2 separate regions of the Homo sapiens genome follow, and region 1 is linked to region 2. The links are contacts of gene promoters, found by promoter capture Hi-C in blood cells and fetal thymus (Javierre and others, 2016). All regions are on one chromosome and are shown on one strand. The core of a region is centred on a gene start or on the middle of the fragment in contact, and the rest is flanking DNA. Distances in the headings are between cores, read along the strand shown.

What was found. Contacts are between HindIII fragments. The CHiCAGO score rates a contact against its expected background, and 5 or more counts as called.
Region 1: a contact is called between the fragment with the promoter of IRF3 here and a fragment that was not itself captured in region 2, in 1 of 17 cell types (naive CD4 T cells). The highest score is 5.6, in naive CD4 T cells.

Annotation. Positions count from the first base shown.
Region 1 is chr19:49,664,474-49,667,173 of GRCh38, reverse strand. It overlaps IRF3 (interferon regulatory factor 3), which reads left to right and starts at 1,317. Exons shown (of 8, transcript NM_001571.6): 1 at 1,317-1,543; 2 at 2,328-2,500. The coding sequence starts at 2,336. BCL2L12 (BCL2 like 12) reads right to left here and starts at 1,241. Exons shown (of 7, transcript NM_138639.2): 1 at 1,107-1,241; 2 at 375-489; 3 at 13-155. The coding sequence starts at 481. RefSeq lists silencers at 1,069-1,148, 1,189-1,338. The HindIII fragment of the contact is 30,887 bases long and covers 1-2,700 here.
Region 2 is chr19:49,226,407-49,229,106 of GRCh38, reverse strand. The region is part of intron 1 of LOC107985340 (a long non-coding RNA gene); the gene reads right to left. Among named protein-coding and RNA genes, the nearest start is that of TRPM4, 70 kb to the right of the region's middle. The HindIII fragment of the contact is 825 bases long and covers 979-1,803 here.

The DNA.
Region 1 (2,700 bases), core at 68-2,567, 440 kb before region 2:
GAAATCTCTTACCAGGCTCTAAACCATAGCAGGGGCGGATGGGCAGAGAGCAAGGCCGAGGGGACTCAGAGGGGGCTGCTCCTCGCCCCAGGGAGCAGGGAAGACATCTTCGAAGGCGGCTCAGGAAGTCTGTTGGCTCTTCTTGGGCAGGGCTTCTGGAGAGGAGGACTTCAGAGACTGACCCCACCAGAGATCCCCTGCAAGCAGTCTCTTTCCCCAACTCCCTCCCTCCCCCGCTGAGGACCTCTCTCCAAAACCCCAAAGACAGAGAATAGAGCCAGATATAAAGAGAGGAGACAGACTGAGACCAGGAGCAAGAGTTAGGAGGGAGCCTCAAATGCTGGCCCCTGGGGGAGAAGGGCCACTCCTCTTACCTAGGTGGAGTTGGAACAGGAGACCCGGCAGCCTCACCACGCCTAAGGAAGGCAGCTAGGACCCTCAGCGTGTCTTCCCGGAGCCCCAGCTCTTCAGAGCCTGCCATGGAGGCACCTGTGAGAGAGAGGGTTAGGGACTGGACTCCAAGGGTTTAGCAAGAAGTGGAGGCTTGGGGACCAGGACTTGTGAGTCCCAAGGAAGGTGCTGAGGGCCTGGACTCCTGGGTCCTTTGGAGAGTGTGGGTCTGGGGGCCTAGACTCTTGAGTCCTCAGACGAAAAAGCGATCAGGAAAAAGACTCTTCGATCCAAGGAAAGGTGGTGGGGCTGGGTGCCCAGATTCGTGGGTCTAAAGGAGGAGGGAGCTGGGGTCCTGGACTTCTGAGTCTTAGAGAAAAAGGAACTGGAGCCCCAGACCCTTAGGTCTCCCAGGAAGAAGAGGCTTAGCGCCCCAACTCCTGGATTCTATAAGAGGCATATGCCAAACTCCTGAAACCCTTAAAGCATCGGGAACTACCAATCCCAAGAGGTTTCAGGGCAAATCTTCCCCTAGGTCCGCGCTTCTTCGCCGCGCAGCCTGCTGTGAGGTGTAGTTCCAAATCTCCGACCCCTGCTGGAATCTAGAGGACCCTGGACCCTTGGATATCAGAGAAGCGGGACTGGGGTGCCCACCACTGGATCCCGGCCCCCTCCTCTTCCCTCCTCACCCCACCCCTCGTCAACACCCCGCTGACCTGGTCCGGGGCCCCACCGCCGCCTCCTCCACTCAACTTGCGGTCTCCTCCACTGAACTCGTACAAACTTTATTAGTTCAACTTTCCCGCGCCTGCGCACTGGGCCGGGTCGATAACCGGCCCAGCGTAGAAAGGGCGGAACGCTGGGTGCACGCTCAATTTGCATGTGACGCTCCCAGCATGCCTCTGGCCGGAAACCCAAAAAAGGGCATAGGGGCGGGAACAGCCCAGCGGGCCGTCCCATCGGCTTTTGGGTCTGTTACCCAAAGAATGATAAAGTTGGTTTTATTTCAAGAAGTCGATCAAAAAGAAAGCCCCAGCGCTCTAGAGCTCAGCTGACGGGAAAGGGGGTGCGCAGCCTCGAGTTTGAGAGCTACCCGGAGCTCCAAGACAGGGGTGGGTTCCAGCTGCCCGCACGCCCCGACCTTCCATCGTAGGTAACGCGGAAGAGCCCGGGAGAGCGTTGGTGGCGTCCGAGAGCGAGGAGCGGGAAAGAGGATGGGTCTGCACGGAGAGTGGAAAGGCAGGCTGTGTACTCTGGGGAAAGTGGAGCAAGGAAGGAGCTACAGTGGCCGACGCTGGAGGTCGGCTGCAGAAAAACTAGAAAAAGTAGGGAGGAAAGAGGAAAAGAGGAGGCGTCTACACTGAGGGGGTTCTAGAGAGGGAGGGGTGGACTCCGTAGATGGGGGTAGTTCAGTCTCGAAACCTGGGGCGTGCTCTGTCCTGGAGGAGGGAGGCGGGCAGTCGGAGGGGAATTGAATGGAAGTTCTGTGTTGGAAATGTTTTGGGAGATCTTCTGTAGGGGGACTGTGGAAGGGGGTCTACATTGGGGTAAGTGCAGGAGGTAGAGGCTTACACGTGAATCGATTCTGCACTGAAATAACTAGGGAAAGAGGATGCTACCCTGAAAGTGGGGATACTTACTTTCGATGATGTGGGGGAGGGAGGAGGTCTATACTGGCGGAATTGAGGGAGTGGAGGGTCTGCACTGAAGACGCTGGGGAAGGATGTGCCATGGATATGGGAAGGAACCCTAGCTGATTAGAGAGCCTCTCGGGAGGATGGGAGGATGGGAAGAGGAGGTTTCCTGTTTGTACCCCCGAAAATATGGGTGAAGGACCTGTGCCGTGGCCCGTGAGAAGGAGGTCTGGGTGCGGAAACTCCAGGCCAGGTGGGTCCGGGGGAGGCCGGTCGCGCCCAGGAAATGCCCTATACGCGCAGGCCGGACCATGGGAACCCCAAAGCCACGGATCCTGCCCTGGCTGGTGTCGCAGCTGGACCTGGGGCAACTGGAGGGCGTGGCCTGGGTGAACAAGAGCCGCACGCGCTTCCGCATCCCTTGGAAGCACGGCCTACGGCAGGATGCACAGCAGGAGGATTTCGGAATCTTCCAGGTGCGTGCGACGACCTGGGACGCTGGAAACCCGGAGCTGCGCGCTGGGCGGAAAGGACTCCTAGTGGGCCCGGCTGAGAAGGCGGAGGTGGCGCGCGAGGGGCGGGCTCGTGCCAACGCTGGTGGGTGGGGCTAGAACGGGAGGGGCGGGGCTAGCCGGATCCGCTGACTGATGGTGGGGCGCAAGCAGGGTTGGAGCTG
Region 2 (2,700 bases), core at 142-2,641:
TCAGGCCAACCTTGAGTATTGACCTCAACTCTCAACTATGTCCCCCAGGGTCCTAGACTCAGCCAACTGTGAATAAGTCTCAAGGTGGCTCATGCCTGTAATCCCTGCAGTTTGGGAGGCTGAGACCGGCAGATCATTTAATCTTAGGAGTTCAAGATCAGCCTGGGCAACGTAGTGAAGGCCCATCTCTACAAAAAATACAAAAACAATATTAGCCAGAAGTGGTGGCACACCTGTAATCCTAGCTACTTGGGAGGCTGAGGCGGGAGGATCCCCTGAACCCAGAAGGTTGAGGTTGCAGTGAGCCAAGATCACGCCACTGTACTCCAGCCTAGGTGACAGAGCAAGACCCTGTCTCTAATACAATAAAATTAAAATAAAAAAAAAATAAAAGTCCAGGTGTGGTGGCTCACGTCTGTAATCCCAGTACTTTGGGAGGCCGAGGAGGGGGAATCACCTCAGGTCAGGAGTTCAAGACCAGCCTGATCAACATGGAGAAACCACGTCTCTACTAAAAATACAAAATTAGCCGGGCATGGTGCCACATGCCTGTAATCGCAGCTACTTGGGAGGCTGAGGCAGAAGAATCGCTTGAACCCGGGAGGCAGAGGTTGCAACGAGCTGAGATCATGCCATTACACTCCAGCCTGGGCAACAAGAGTGAAACTCCATCTCAGAAAAAAAAAAAGTAAAAACTGGTCCCAGAGGACCAGTACATCTTATTTTGGACAACCAGGATATAGTCTAAGGCGACTCTATTGTCCATTATAAGCAGAGCAGAGAACTTTAGGCTGATCTGCTAAAATACCAAAAAAAGAAATTTAAAAATAAAAAAACTGATCTGATCTTTGATGTCTTTACAAACAATTACAGGGTGACAACAGATGAGCCTAAAAGCAACCCCCATCCACAATGGGCATGCCACAGCTTACCTCCCCAACCTGAGAAGAGACAGTCATTGGATTTTGTTGTTAAGCTTGGCTGGAATTACCGTTACATTGTCTCAGTTAAGCCACATAAGTAATATCAGCAGGTTGTTTCAACTAACACAGGAGTGAGCCAACTTTTTCTGGAAAGAACCAGGTAATAGTATTTTGGGTTTTGTAGGGCATTTGTTTTCTGTGGCATAGTCATCTTTTTCTTTTTTCTTTTTGAAACAAGATCTTGCTCTGTCACTGAGGCTGGAGAGCTGTGGTACAATAATATCTCACTGCAGCTTCGACCTCCCAGGCTCAAGCGATCCTCCCACCTCAGCCTCCCGAGTAGCTGGGACTACAGGCGTGCACCAGCACACCCAGCTAATTTTTAATTTTTTGTAGAGACAGGCTTTCACCACATAGCCCAGGCTAGTCTTGATCTCCTGGGCTCAAGTGATCCTTCTGCTTCAGCCTCCCCAAGTGCTAGGATTACAGAGGTGAGCCACCACACCTGGCTTTTTTTTTTTTTTTTTTTTTTTAAACAATTCTTGGCTGAGCCGTGGCTCACGCCTGTAATTCCAGCACTTTGGGAGGCTGAAGCAGGTGGATCACTTGAGGTCAGGAGTTCAAGACCAGGACGGCCAACATGGAGAAACCCCGTCTCTACTAAAAATACAAAAATTAGCCGGGCATGGTGGCGGGCACCTTTAATCCCAGCTACTCGGGAAGCTGAGGCAGGAGAATGGCGTGAACCCAGGAGGCGGAGCTTGCAGTGAGCCAAGATCATACCACTGCTCTCCAGCCTGGGCGACAAAGCGAGATTCCATCTCAAAAACAACAACAACAACAACAACAACAACACATTCTTTAAAATATATGAAAAGCTTTGTTAGTTTATAGACCACACAGAAACAGGTCACAGGCCAGATGTATCCCACAGGCTATAGTGTGCCAACTCCTGATCTAGCACCATGTCGGTCCAACAAGGGGATTCTGGTGCCTAAACCAGCATTAGTTTGAATCCCCTACTTGGCCCCCTCAGGACTCAACTGCCATCTGGAGGGCATGACCACCAGGCTGTCCAGCGGAAAGAAAGATGCATCATTCCCAACAATGGTCAGCGGGCAAAATTGTACTTTTTTTTTGAGACGGAGTCTTGCTCTGTCACCCAGGCTGGAGTGCAGTGGTGTGATCTCGGCTCACTGCAAGCTCCGCCTCCCGGGTTCATGCCATTCTCCTGCCTCAGCCTCCTGAGTAGCTGGGACTACAGGCGCCCGCCACCAAGCCCGGCTAATTTTTTGTATTTTTAGTAGAGACGGGGTTTCACCATGTTAGCCAGGATGGTCTCGATCTCCTGACCTCGGGTCTCTGTAACTCCTCCAACACTTCTGTCTCAGGGACTATCCAAGATGCAGCCAAGAAGAGATGAAGCCTCTTCTGGGACTGCCACATTCAGTGACCAAACGGCCTGAGTAAAGTGTGTGCGGCCGGGTGTGGTGGCTCACGCCTGTGATCCCCCCACTTTGGGAGGCCAAGACGGGTGGATCACTTGAGGTCAGGGGTTCGAGACCAGCTGGCCAACATGGTGAAACCTATCTCTACTAAAAATACAAAAATCACCTAGGCATGGTGACGCCTATAATCCCAGCTACTTGGGAGGCTGAGGCAGGAGAATCGCTTGAACCCAGGAGGCAGAGGTTACAGTGAGCCGAGATGGCACCACTGCACTCCAGCCTGAGCAACAGAGCATCTGTCTCAAAAAATAAATAAATAAAGTGTGTGG